Linked DNA regions of Homo sapiens: regions 2 and 3 are each linked to region 1. Evidence: promoter capture Hi-C in 16 types of primary human blood cells and fetal thymus (Javierre and others, 2016). All regions are on one chromosome and are shown on one strand. The core of a region is centred on a gene start or on the middle of the fragment in contact, and the rest is flanking DNA. Distances in the headings are between cores, read along the strand shown.

Region 1 (4,486 bases), core at 1,972-4,471:
GGTCTCAAACTCCAGGCCTCAAACAACCCTCTTGCCTTGATTGTTAATATTTTAAACAAATCATCCCAGGCAACAGCCACACACTGGGCCTGTTCTGTTCTCAGCTTAAATACAGGCCCCCACTCCCCTCCTGTGTGAAGTTAGCATCTGTCCTGAGAAGAGACGATCTTCCAGCACCTGGAGAGGAAACCCCCTTCCATGTGACCTCTCAAGCATCCCCTCTGCCCCAGAGGCCTCCACCGGAGAGACAGGTGTCCTGGGCATTCTGATGGGTGCCCAGGCCCCTGTGGATGGAGTCTGGACCCACGGAGGTGCTGGAAGGCACACCCTATTTGCAGCCAGATGTCAGTCTCACCAAAGGCTTGAGAGCAAATGTGAAACCAGGGGGAGGCCTCAGCCTGCCAAAGCCCACTGTTTTGCTTCCTTATCTTTCTTCCCCATCAGCACCAGGGAAGTCAGGCCCTGCGTCTCAACCTGCATGTGCACACGCACACACACATACATGCACACACATGCATGTACATGTGTGCATGTGCACATGTATACACATGCATACATATACACACATGTACACACACACACGTTGCTCACACTGCACTTTCACTGACCTTTCCTAAACTACGGCACAAACCAATTGGTCATATCCCAGGACCCATTGGATGAAAATAGATCCTCTCCTCTAAAAATAACAACAGCTGGCCTTCATGGGGCTGTCGCCTGGTGCTAGCTGCTGTGCTAACCCCTGGCCATGAATCATCCTGTGTTGCTTTCAGTGCTGGGTGTGTTATTATCCCCATCCAACAGATGAAGAAACTGAGGCTTGGAGAGGTTAAGGTCACAGGAAAGGTCCGGCAGCGTGCGGGCGATCGGCAGGATGTGCGGGCAGCAGCGTCAGGAACCACTGCAACACGTGGTAACTCTTTTTCCAGATCCCTTCTTTCTGATCCACTCTGGCAAGACTGTCTCTAGCCCACCGCACCCCCAATTGGATGTGCGTGAGCTCCTCAAAGCCTTGGTGGTCCCGACACTCACCCTGCCTGGACACCGGGAGCCTCTGGGTGAGCTGGGTGGGGCCCAGGAGGAAGCAGAGTCCGGTGAGGTACATGTTCCTCCCGCACTCGTGGTGCACGGTGGGGCCGCAGGCCTGGGGACACAGCGGGCTGCTGGGGGGCTGCCCCTGCTTCCTCCCACCCTCACATTCCGGAACCTCCACCCTACAGGAGACTCCCAGCCCCCCGCGGCCCCGGCTCCTCCCTCCCTCCCTCAGAAGCCTCCTGTGACCCAGGGCCACTCACCAGCAGCTGGGAAGGGCTGGTGGTAGACGCCAGGGACAGGCCCAGGGACATGTTCACGGCCTCCGGGGGCACTGTGGGGACAGATATGTGCATGGTCACTCTCGGGGGTACAGAGAAGGCTGTGGAAGAGCTGGGCAGGGGTCACCTCCACCTGGGAGACAAGGAGGTCTGACGGTGAAGGAAGCTGTCGGGTCTTGACAGAGCTGCGGGAGTGCGATGGGCGGGGAGGCCTTAAGGGGCCAGGAAGCATATCTGAGGGTGAGGGTCTCAGACACAGTGGAAGCTGAAAGTGACACTCCGGTGAGTCCACGGGCCCCTGGAGCAGGGAAGCCTGGGAGCCCGGCCCTGGGTCCCGGGAGGGGCGGTGACTCACCCTGCAGGCCGATGGGCTCACAGGCACCAGTGCTGTAGCCACACTGGTAGAGGCCACCCGTTTGGTTGGCAGCTGTTATCTTTTGGGGGGCTCCAACCACCACCCTGCGAGGAGACAAAGAACACTTTAGGTAAGAGTGTGGACGCTGCAGCACAGCTGCCACTCCGGCAAGTTTGCGTTCCCTCCCTGAGCCTCAGCTTCCTCATCTGCAAGATGGATTTTAATAATTTAAAGTCCATGTGGAAGGGATTTCTGTCTGTTGGATTCTCTGGCGTATGGAGACAAGAAATATTTGTTGAGTCTGGGTGTGGTGGCTCACACCTGGAATCCCAGCACTTTGGGAGGCTGAGGCGGGAGGATTGCTTGAGCCCAGGAGTTTGAGACCAACCCAGGCAACATAGTGAGACCCTGTCTCTATATATTTTTAAATGTATAGAAAAAAAGAAAGAAAAAACAAATAAGTGTTTGTTGCACGACTGATTCCTACTCACAGGCTGTCGTGTGGACTAAATCAGCATCCACCTGTGATGAGCCTGGCACTGCACTTACTGCTCTGTAAATGTTAGCTGTGAGACCGTGCCTGCCTTCAAGGCAAATCTTCATTAGCCAGGGCAGTCGCTACACCAGACAGAGAGGAGAGTTTGCAAATAACAGGGCAGGGCCGGGGGCATGGGGCCCTGAGCAGGGAGAGGATGGATGGAGCCAAAGGCCAGCACCACCTGGGCCTCACCAGGAGTTGGCATACTGGACCACGCTGTCTCCAAACCCAGCGCTGTCCACACGGAAGGCTGTCAGCTCCTCTGTGTCCAAGTTGAAACCTAGAGAAGTTGCTAAGGCTGGGAAAGAGGTGGGAAGAGAGCTTTGGAGAAGGGTCTTCCTTCTGCCTGGCTGCCCTCCACCCCCGGCCCCAGCGTCCCAATCTCCCCTCCGAGCCTGATGCCCGGGGTGCCTGGGTCTTCTGGACACCCAACTCATCCCCTTCTCTCCTTCCCAGGGTCCAGGGATGCCCCTTGCCCACCATCCACTATCGAGTTGCAGTTCTCCATTTCTGCAGAGCAGTACCCAGGCTCTAAAAAGGATCTTTCCCCAACGTGCACCTCGGGCGCTATGAGAGTGAGTCCAGGAAAACTTGCGGACCAAAGCATCCTGTCCACAGAGCACAAGTTGGCGCATTCTGCCTATTTTAAAAATCTCTGCAGTACAGAGACAACTGGCCTCTCTTCCAGCATCTCTGGAACTCTCCCAAAATTGGTTCATCAATATCCTCTCCCTCCACAAACTCCAAATCTCAGACCCTATGTGCCTGCCTCCCCCTCAGGCTTGACTGAGTCTCTCTTCCTACCCAGATCCTAACCCCCCAGCCTGAGCCCCCAGTTCAGGGCCCTGGCTCCCTTGGGCCTGGGTCCCCAGCCCTACTTCATTGGGGTCCAGGCTCACCTGTGAACAGGAGGAGTGCTGCCCTGGTCCTGGTCATGACTAGAAGGTCAGATGTGGAGCTCTGAGCTCCTGGGCCGTTGCAGGAAGAGCTGGACCAAGGTACTGAGGAAGCAAGTGGGCAGAGAGGTGGCCAGGGGAAGGAAGAAGATTGTCAGCATGAGTCAGAGGGGGCGGGCAGAGTACGCAACTGATCCGAGGACAGGCTCGGCCTCCCACACGCCCCCACCCCCCAACCGGAGTCACTCTCATCAGATGACTTGGCTTGATGCCCTTTGCTTAGATGGATGCAAATCCCTGCCCTGCCCCTCCCAGGCTCACCCTTGACTGCCAGAAGGCACCCCTTGACCTTGAAATTTCAGCCAGACTGGAGGGGGTTTGGGCAGATGCCAACCCCTCAGGACCCTAAAGGAAACCCTGGTGGGAGCCCTCCACTCTGACCTGGAAAGTCTGGGCCAAGGAGTGGGGCATCCGGGTCCCTAGGAGGAGCACAGAGCGAGTATTTGTTCATTCATTCATTCACTCATTTATTCATCATTTATTCAAGAAGCCTAATTTGAGCCTGGAGATGCAAGCCCTCTGCTAGGTGGGGAAGAAAATATAAACCACAAAGCACCAGCCCTGGGGTCAGTGGAGAGGCAGATGTATAAACAGCAAGTTCATTGCTGTGAGGGGGAAGCACAGAGACCACAGGGTGCCTCACCCGGGTTGTGAAGGTGTGGCTTTCTGAGAAGGCTTCCTGAAAGAGGTGGTGCTTGAGCTGAGCATTGAAAGCAACCAAAGTTGGGAGATGACAGAGCAGCCAGACATGGATGAGGCAGGGGACAGGAGGGTCTGTGTGTGAAATCAGCAATGGGAACCAGACAGTCAGGGTGGGAAGTTGTAAGAGACAAGGTCAGGGCCACTGGGAGGAAAGCAAGGGGAAGCAGGCCTCAGGCCGTGGAAGCCCCCCTAATGTACATCAATTTTTTTTTTTAATTTCAGAAACAGGGTCTTGCTCTGCCACCCAGGCTGGAGTGCAGTGGGTGCATAGTTCACTGCTGCTTCGAACTCCTGGGCCCAAGGGATCCTCCTGCCTCAGCCTCCTGAGTAGCCAGGACTATAGGATTGCACCACTGCACCTGAATATATATATATATTTATATATATATATTTTTTAATTTTAGTAGAGACAGAGTTTCCCCATGTTGGCCAGGCTGGTCTCAAACTCCTGATCTCAATCAATCCTCCTGCCTCAGCCTCCTAAATTGCTGGGATCACAGGTGTGAGCCACCACACCTGGTGAAGACACATTGATTTTGTCCTGAGAGTGGAGGACAGCATTGAAGGGAATTCATGGGGACTGAGATCTTCACATTTTCATTTTAGAAAGTGGGTTATATGG
Region 2 (4,486 bases), core at 568-3,067, 500 kb before region 1:
TTAGTTTGCTGAGGATGATGGTTTCCAGCTTCATCTATGTCCCTGCAAAGGACATGAACTCATTCTTTTTTACGGCTATGTAGTGTTCCATGGTGTATTGTTTTTCCTTATTCTCACTGGTTGATATTTCGGTTGTTTACCCATTCAGCTATCATGAATAGTGCTGCAGGGAGCCTTTGTGTACACATAGGTTTTCCTATCTTTTAGTTATATAACTGATAGTGTCACATGAATAATTTGCAAATATTTTCTCCCATTCAACAAATTGTCTCATCACTGTTGATTGCTTCCTTTGCTGTGCAGAAGCTCTGTAGTTCAATATGGTCCCATTTTCTAGTATTTGTTTGTTGCTTGTGATTTTGTGGTCTTAGCCATAAAATATCTGGCTAGATCAATGTTCAGGAGGGTTTCTCTTATGTTTTATTCTAGTAGTGTTATAGTTATGGGTTTGTGTTTCAATCTTTTATTTTGAGATGATATATATATCATATATCATATATATTTTTTGAGTTGAGATATATATATATAAATATATATATTTGAAGCTAGACTTCTATCAGTATATATATATACTGATATATATATATATATATATATATATACTGATAGAAGTCTAGCTTCAAATGAATTGAATAGCTTATGCATATAGCTATCCAGTTTTTTCAATACCATTTATTGAAGAGGGTATCCTTCTCCCAACGTATGTTCTTAGTGCCATTGTTGAAAGTCAGTTACTTGTAAATATGTGGTTTTTTTCTGAATTCTCTATTCTGCTCTATTGGTCTCTGTGTCTATTTTTATACCAACACTATGCTTTTGGGGTTGCTCTGACCTTGTATGATATTTTGAAGTCAGGTGGTACAATGTCTTCAGCTTTGTTCTTTTGCTCAGGATTGCTTTGACTCCAGGCTCTTTGTTGGTTCCATACACATTTTAGACTTCTTTTGTGTGTGAAAAAGTTGGCATTTTGATAGTGATTGCATTGAATCTGTAGACTGCTTTGGTCATTTTAACAATATTAATTCTTCTGATCTATGGGCTAAACCACTAGCTAGACAAAAAAATTATGGGCATGGAATCTATGGGCATGCAATGTCCTTTCATTTTTTTATGTACTCTTCAGTATCTTACATCAGTGTTTTTTAGTTCTCCTTGTAGAAGTCTTTCACCACCACAGCTAAATTTATTACTAGGTATTTTAATATTTTGTAGCTATTGTAAATGAGATGGCTTCCTTGACTTCTGTTTCAGCCACTTACTTATTATGTAGAAATGCTCCTGATTTCTGTATGTTGATTTTGTGTCCTGCAACTTTGCTGATCATATTTATCAAATCTAATAGTTTTTTGGTGGCATCTTTATGTTCTTCTAAATATAAGATCATGTCATTTGCACAAAGCAACAATTAAACTTTCACTTTTCCTATTTAGATGCCTTTTATTTCTTTCTCTTGCCTGATTACTTCGGCTAGGACTTCCAGTACTTTGTTGAATAGAAATAGTGAAAATGAACATCGTTGTTTAGTTCTAGTCCCTAGCAGAAAAGATTTAAGCTTTTCCTTATTTAGTATAATGTTACCTGTGGATTTGTCATATATGGCCTTTATTAAGTTGAGGTATGTTCCTGTAGGCCTAGTTTGTTGAGCGTTTCTATCATGAAAAGATGTTAAATTTTGTCAAATGCTCTTTCTGCATCTATTGAGATGATTGTATGGTTTTTGTATTTCATTCTGTTAATGTGATGTATTGTGTTTATGGGTTTGTGTGTGGAAATCCATCCTTCCATCCCTGGGATAAATCCTACTTGATTGTGGCATGTTATCTTTTTGATGTGCTGTTGCATTCAGTTTGCTAGTATTTTGTTGAAGATTTTAACATCTTTATTCATCATATTAAACTGTAGCTTTCTGTTTTCATTGTATCCTTGTATTGTTTTCATATCAGGGTAATGCTTGCTTCATAGAATGAGTTACAAAGAATTCCCCCCCCTTCTATTTTTTGAATACTTTGAGAAAAATTGATATTAGTTCTTCTTTATAAGTTTGGTAGAATTCAGCTGTCAAGTTATCAAGCCCCAAGCTTTTATTTGCAGAGAGACATTTTATTACTGTATCAATCTCATTTCTCATTATTGGTTTGTTTGGGTCTTCTATTTCTCCCTGATTCAATAGTGATAGTTTGTATGTGTCCAGGAATTTAGATATTTTCTCTAATTTTTCCAGTTTGTTATCATGCAATTGTTCTTAGGAGTCTCTGATTATCTTTCATACTTCTTTCTGCAGTATCAGTTGAAATGTCTGCTTTTTCATTTCTGACATTGTTTATTTGGGTCTTTTCTCTATTTTTTGTCTAGCTAGTGGTTTATGAATGTTGTTTCATGTTTTCAAAAAAAGTTTTATTTCATTGGCCCTTTGTATTTTTTTAAGTTTCTAGTTTGCTTACTTCTCCGATTTTTATTATTTCTTTGTTTGTTTGTTTGTTTTGTTTTGTTTTAAGACGGAGTCTTACTCTGTTGCCCAGGTTGGACTGCAGTGGTGCCATCTCGGCTCACTGCAGCCTCTGCCTCCTGGGTTCAAGCAATTCTCCTGCCTCAGCCCCCTGAGTAGTTGGGATTACAGGTGTACTCCACCACACCTGGCTAATTTTTGTATTTTTTAGTAGAGAAGAGGTTTCACCACGTTGGCCAGGCTGGTCTCAAACTCGTGACCTCAGGTGATCCAGCTGTCTCAGTCTCCCAAAGTGCTGGACTACAGGCATGAGCCACTGCACCTTGACTGATTTTTATTATTCCTTATGCTTATGTTGAGCTTAGTTTGTTCTTGCTTTTTTGGTTTCTTGAGGTGTATCATTAGGTTGTTTACTGTAAATATTTCTACTTTTTTGATGTAGGTATTTACTGCTGTAAACTTCCCTCAACACTGCTTTTGCTGCATTTCATAGTTTCCAAAATATTGTGTTTTCATCTTCATTTTTTAAATATTTGTTTGGATTTCTGTATTAACCCAATGGTTGTTCTGGAGCATGTCATTTAATTTTCATGTATTTGTACAGTTTTCAAAGTTCCTTTTGCTACTGATTTTTGGCTTTATTTCACTGTAGTATGAGAAAATACTTGATATGATTTCAATTTTTAAACATTTGTTAAGACTCGTTTTCTGGCCTAACAGAGGGTCTATCCTGAAGACTGTTCCATGTGCTTCTGAGAAGAATGTATGTTTTGCAGTCATTGGATCAAGTGTTCTGCAGATGTCTGTTAGGTTCCTTTGGTCTAAAGCAACGGTGCCTAACCTTTTTGGCACCAGGAACTGGTTTCGTGGAAGACAATTTTTCCTAGGACTAGGGGAGGGGGATGATTTCAGGATAATTTAAGTGCATTACATTTATCATTAGATTCTCATAAGGAGCATACAGCCTGGATCACTGGCATGTGCAGTTCACAATAGGGTTTGAGCTCCTATGACAATCTAATGCTGCTGCTGATCTGACAGGAGGTAGAGCTCAGCTTCACTGGCTCACCTGCCACTCACCTCCTGCTGAGCTTCCTGGTTCCTAACAAGCCAGGGGTGGGTATTGGTCTGTGACCCGACGGTTGGGGACCCCTGGTCTAAAGTACAGTTTAAATCTGATGTTTCATTATTGATTTTCTGTCTAGGTAATCTTCCAGGGCTTGTCTAGTGGTGATGAATTTCTTCAGTTTTTGCTTGTCTGGGAACGTCTTTATTTCTCCTTCATTATGAGGTATAACCTTGCTTAGGCTGTGTTTGCTAGTTGAGGCTGTGGTGAGGTTTTGGTAGGAATGGAACACCAGATAGGCCAGTCCTTCAGCCCCCATGGTGACAGTGGCAGCAGTAAAGGGTTGAGGGTGTCTGTCCTTGGGCTGCTGGGTAGTGTATGTGGGCACTGGTGTTAGTGTGCCTAAGCCTGTTGATTCTCAGGCCTTCAGGAGGCTTGCTCTGATGTCTGTAGTAACAGCAGTGGGCTAGGAAATGGGGCAAGTCCTCAGGCCTCTGAGCAGTGTGTACCGTGTGGATGAGGAGAGTAGTGGGGTTGAGGCAACTTCAGGCTTCCAGGCAGCACTCACAGTGTTTGTGGTGGCTGCAATGGGCTGAATCAGACAGTCCCTAGAGCCTTAGGTGACACATGAGTGTGGATGCTGGTGGTTGTCTGGGTGGGCCCATCCTTAGGACCCCAAGAGTACCCAGATGACAGCAGTGGTGGATGGCATGGGAGATTCCTAGACCTTTAGACAGCATGCTTGAGTGCTGGCTGCACATTTTCTTGGCCTGTTTTTAGGACCCTGGTGGACTCATGCCAGAGGCTACCACCTGTACAATGCTGTCCTCAGGTCCACAAGTGGAATATTTGACCACTAAGGGTGGGAGAGAGGCAGGTGAGGTGGGCCTGTTCTCAAGTCCTCCTAGTGATGCACATGAGCATAGGCTGTGGGCAGGGCAGGGGAAGTCCCAGACCTCTGGAGCTCATGCTAG
Region 3 (4,486 bases), core at 1,384-3,883, 390 kb after region 1:
CTCGGCTCACTGCAAGCCTCTGCCTCCTGGGTTCACGCCATTCTCCTGCCTCAGCCTCCTGAGTAGCTGGCACTACAGGTGCCTGTCACCATACCTGGCTAATTTTTTGTATTTTTTAGTAGAGATGGGGTTTCAACCATGTTAGCCAGGATGGTCTCGATCTCCTGACCTCATGATCCACCCGCCTTGGCCTCCCAAAGTGCTGGGATTACAGGCGTAAGCCACCGCGCCCGGCCTCCTATGTATTTCTTACTCAATGAAGATGTCTTTCCCTGTAGACTGTAAGCATGATGAGAGTGAGAACACTGCCTGTGAGGCTCAGCAACCCATCCCCTGCACCTACTGTTTGGCTGCGATGAGCACTCAAAAAAATATCTACTGCTTGAAAGAGCGGTTCCCTCAGCAGGCTAAGCTATGCGAATGTGCTAGAGTATAACAACTAGACGTACAAATGAACAAAGAAAAGCAGCTAGGACCAAGTTCTGTGTTATGTTAATACTTGTTTTCTACCTATTTGCCCATTTAATAACCTGCACTTGTTCACTACTCACTGAAGAACAGGCTTAAGAAAAATTAGGAGGAAGAACTTATTCAACTGGGCACTTTCTCCTTAATTTACTTGAGAAGAGACCAACCCATTTTACTTTAGTATGCAGCTTAGCCTGGGGTTCTGTAAACCACCATGACGGTACAGTTTGAAGTGTGTCAGACAATCAATGTCTCTAGAAGGTAGTGACAGGAGATGGTGACATTTTCTTTGTATGTTTTTCTAATAAAGTCACACACTTGTACACAATAAATGCAAGCACCACTGTTTTCTCTCTCTCTCTCACACACACAGCGATCTAACCGACAGCCCTGTGGCACCTACCTGCAGGCCTTGCTGGAGACGCCTCCTGTTCGGGCAGGGGTGTGACTGGGGAGCCTGCAACCCTTTCCGGCACTGGCACCTCCACAGGTGCTGGCGTGGGCACTGGGACTTCTCTGGGGGGCGGGGAGGCTGAGGGAAGGGCTGCTGGCCGCTCCTCTTCCTCTTCATCTTCAGAGGAGGACTCAGAGGATGAAGAGGACGAGGAGGATGAGGACGAGGAGGAGGAGGAGGATGAGGAGCTGGAAGAGCTGCTGCTCTCGGAGTCTGATGTGCTGTCATTTTCGCCATCTGAGTCAGCATACAGAGAACATTTGGAAGACGAATCGCTTTCCTCGTCCTCGCCTGGAAATCCAGAAGGGGCAGTCAGGAGAGGTGGGCAGACCTCACTTGGCCAGCCGTGGGCTCCTCACTCACTCCCTGCTGTGGATGCTGGGCTCTGGGCTAGGGACGGGGAAGTCCAACAGACCAAGGAGCTGCATAAGCAAACCATTTTCACTGTGAGATAAACATCAGCATGCGGGGAGGATGGCAAAGGAAGCCCCAGACTCTGTCTGAAGAGGCCCGAAAAGGAAAGCATCCCAGGGGACAAGCTGAACTCAAGGACAAGGAGTCCACCACACAGACATGGGGACTGCACAGGGATGTCGGAAGCAAGAGGAAGTGGAGGCTTGGAGACTGGGAAGCAGGCTGCTCTGGCACTCAAACCTTCCTAAAGTGGGTCTCAGGACCCAGTCTGGACGAAGGATTGGGTGAAAAAGGATTCTGGGCTGAAAAGGTTAAAAAACACGACAGGCTCTATATTCTGAGACTGCTCATGTACGGGAAGGACTCGAAAAAACTGAAGAATTTCACAGTTTTTGAGGAACAGAATTGGATAAGTTAGACTAGAAGGTGGTGGCAGCTGGGGAGCGGACTGGAGGAGGGCGAGATGGAGCTGAACAGAGCAGGGCCAGGAGATAAACGGCCCATGGTGTTGGCCTGGGGGGACACCCTGTGGAGAACAAGTTGCCAGGAAGGACCTTATGGAGGGAAGTCACAGGGTCAGGAGTGCATTTTAGGAAAGAGATTCTATAAGCAGTTTGGAAAATGGACTGGAACAGAGGGAGAAGGACAGAAAGAGAGACAGGGAAATCAGTCAAGACTGCTGCAAGAGGCTGCGTGCAGTGGCTCACAGGTGAAAGCCTAGCACTTTGGGAGGCCGAGGTGGGTGGATCACTTGAGGTCATGAGTTTGGGACCAGCCTGGCCAACATGGTAAAACCCCATCTCTGCTAAAAATACAAAAATTAGCCAGGTGTGGTGGCTCACACCTGTAATCCCAGCGCTTTGGGAGGCTGAGGCAGGAAAATCGCTGGAACCAGGGAGGCGGAGGTTGCAGTGAGCCAAGATCACATCACTGCACTCCAGCCTGGGTGACAAAGCGAGACTCTGTCTCAAAAAAAAAAAAAAAAAATCTGGGTGTGGTGGCTCACGCCTGTAATCCCAGCACTTCCAGAGGCTGAGGTGGGTGGATCGCCTGAGCTCAGGAGTTCAAGACCAGTCTGGCCAACATAGTGAAACCCTGTCTCTACTAAAAATACAAAAAATTAGCTGGGGGTGGTGGTGGGTGCCTGTAATCCCAGCTACAACGGAGGCTGAGGCAGGAGAATCTCTTGAACTCAGGAGGCGGAGGTTGCAGTGAGCCGAGATTGCGCCATTGCACTCCAGCCTGGGCGACAAGAGCGAAACTCTCTCAAAACAACAACAACAACAACAACAAAAAACAAAACAAAAAAAGCGTTCTGCCAGGCTGTCCTTTTGGACAGCTATGTCTCAGCAGAAGAGGGAGCAGGAGGGAGCATTTTGAGCACTGAGCTTATTGCTGTCAAGGGGCCAAGGGTTCCTAAGAATGTGGCCCAAACAGATGCCCTTGCAGAAGGCAAAGGTGACCCACAAGCCCAGCAGGAAGGTCATGTGGGCTCAGAAAAGGGCTAGCCAGGCAGCCGAACCCCTCCTCCGAGCCCAAAGTCGATTTCACTGTCTTGTGCTCACCATCCGACACCTCTGTCTCCTTCTTTGTGGTATCCACAGCTTCCTCTCGATCTTCATCTTCCTCATCTTCCTCGTCATCCTCCTCATCCTTAAGAAAAAAGACAAATGAGGACTAACAGGAAGGGGACAACTGGTCCTACACCAGGCACAGCTGCCTGGGCTCCAACCACAAAGATGCTGGCTATGGGAAGTAGGCTTCGGCCAGGAGCCGGCGCCCGGGCCCTCACCTTCTCCGAGGAGGACTCCTGGGATGCCTCCTCCCCTTCGCTGTCCAGAGCAAAGGACTTGCGGTGCTTGCCCTGGGTCTTGCCTCGCTCTTCGTCCCGCTTCGGGGGCTTGGTCCCCGGACGTCCTGGCTCTCCAGCCTCCTTCTCTTGTTCAGGGTCTAGGCCAGCAGAGTGGTAGTTGGGGAAATTTACCATCAACCACAAGATACTTGCCCTGTGCAAGGGGCTTTACATATACTATTACCAATCTTCCTGATGGTCTTCATTTCACAGATGAGAATTTGGAAGCTCACCAGAGGAACTCAAACACCTCAGTTACCTCATGTTTCATAGTTTTGTATTTGTTTTTGTTTTTGGGACGGGGTCTTGCTCTGTCACTCAGGCTGGGGTGCAGTGGCATGACCACAGCTCACTGCAGCCTCAACCTGCTGGGCTCAAGCGATCCTCCTGCCTCGGTCTCCTGAGTAACTGGGACTATACAGGGGCATGCAATCATACCCAGCTAATTTTTAAAAATTTTTGTAGAGACAGGGTCTACCTATGTTGCTCAGGCTGGTATTGAACTCCTGGGTTCAAGTGATCCTCCTGCCTCAGCCTCCTGGAGTGCTGGGATTATAGGCGTGAGCCATCGTGCCTGGCATATATATATATATTTTTTTTTTTGAGACGGAGTCTCGCTTTGTCGCCAGGCTGGAGTGCAGTGGCACAATCTCAGCTCACAGCAGCCTCTGCCTCCCGGGTTCAAGCAATTCTCCTGCCTCAGTCTCCCAAGTAGCTGGGACTATAGGCACCCGCCACCACGCCTGGCTAATTTTTCTATTGTTAGTAGAGACGGGGTTTCACCATGTTGGCCAGGATGGTCTCGATCTCTTGACCTTGTGATCCACCCGCCTCGGCCTCCCAAAGTGCTGGGATTACAGGTGAGCTCCACCCTGCCTGGCCTTAATATATACAGATACGCATATGTGTGTGTATATATATATGTGTGTGTGTATATATTTGTGTGTATATACATATGTGTGTGTACATATATATATATATATGTATTTTTTTTTTTTTTGAGACACAGTCTCGTGCTATCACCCAGGCTGAAGTGCAGTGGCATAATCTTGGCTCACTGTAACCTCCACCTCCTGGGTTCAAGTGATTCTCGTGCCTCTGCCTCCCAAGTAGCTGGGATTACAGGTGAACACCACCATGCCTGGCTGTTTTGTATTTTTAGTAGAGACAGGGTTGTGCCATGTTGGCCTGGCTGGTCTTGAACTTCTGACCTCAGGTGATCCTCCTGCCTCAGCCTCTGGAAGTGCTGGGATTACAGTCAGGAGCCACTGCGCCCAGCCCACACAGTTTTAAATATG

What was found. The method cuts DNA at HindIII sites, captures the fragments that hold promoters and counts their contacts. A CHiCAGO score of 5 or more calls a contact.
Region 2: a fragment that was not itself captured here is called in contact with the fragment with the promoter of ITGAX in region 1 in 1 of 17 cell types (total B cells); the score reaches 6.1 in total B cells.
Region 3: a contact is called between a fragment that was not itself captured here and the fragment with the promoter of ITGAX in region 1, in 2 of 17 cell types (monocytes and total CD8 T cells). The highest score is 6.2, in monocytes.

Annotation. Positions count from the first base shown.
Region 1 is chr16:31,353,911-31,358,396 of GRCh38, reverse strand. ITGAX (integrin subunit alpha X) reads right to left here and starts at 3,221. Exons shown (of 30, transcript NM_000887.5): 1 at 3,106-3,221; 2 at 2,399-2,504; 3 at 1,669-1,772; 4 at 1,296-1,366; 5 at 1,033-1,144. The coding sequence starts at 3,142. RefSeq lists enhancers at 3,450-3,639, 3,830-3,959. The HindIII fragment of the contact is 18,983 bases long and covers 1-4,486 here.
Region 2 is chr16:31,854,617-31,859,102 of GRCh38, reverse strand. No RefSeq gene overlaps it. Among named protein-coding and RNA genes, the nearest start is that of ZNF267, 17 kb to the left of the region's middle. The HindIII fragment of the contact is 526 bases long and covers 1,555-2,080 here.
Region 3 is chr16:30,968,105-30,972,590 of GRCh38, reverse strand. It overlaps SETD1A (SET domain containing 1A, histone lysine methyltransferase), which reads right to left. Exons shown (of 19, transcript NM_014712.3): 11 at 3,129-3,286; 12 at 2,902-2,989; 13 at 872-1,213. Among named protein-coding and RNA genes, the nearest start is that of SETD1A, 13 kb to the right of the region's middle. The HindIII fragment of the contact is 6,620 bases long and covers 1-4,486 here.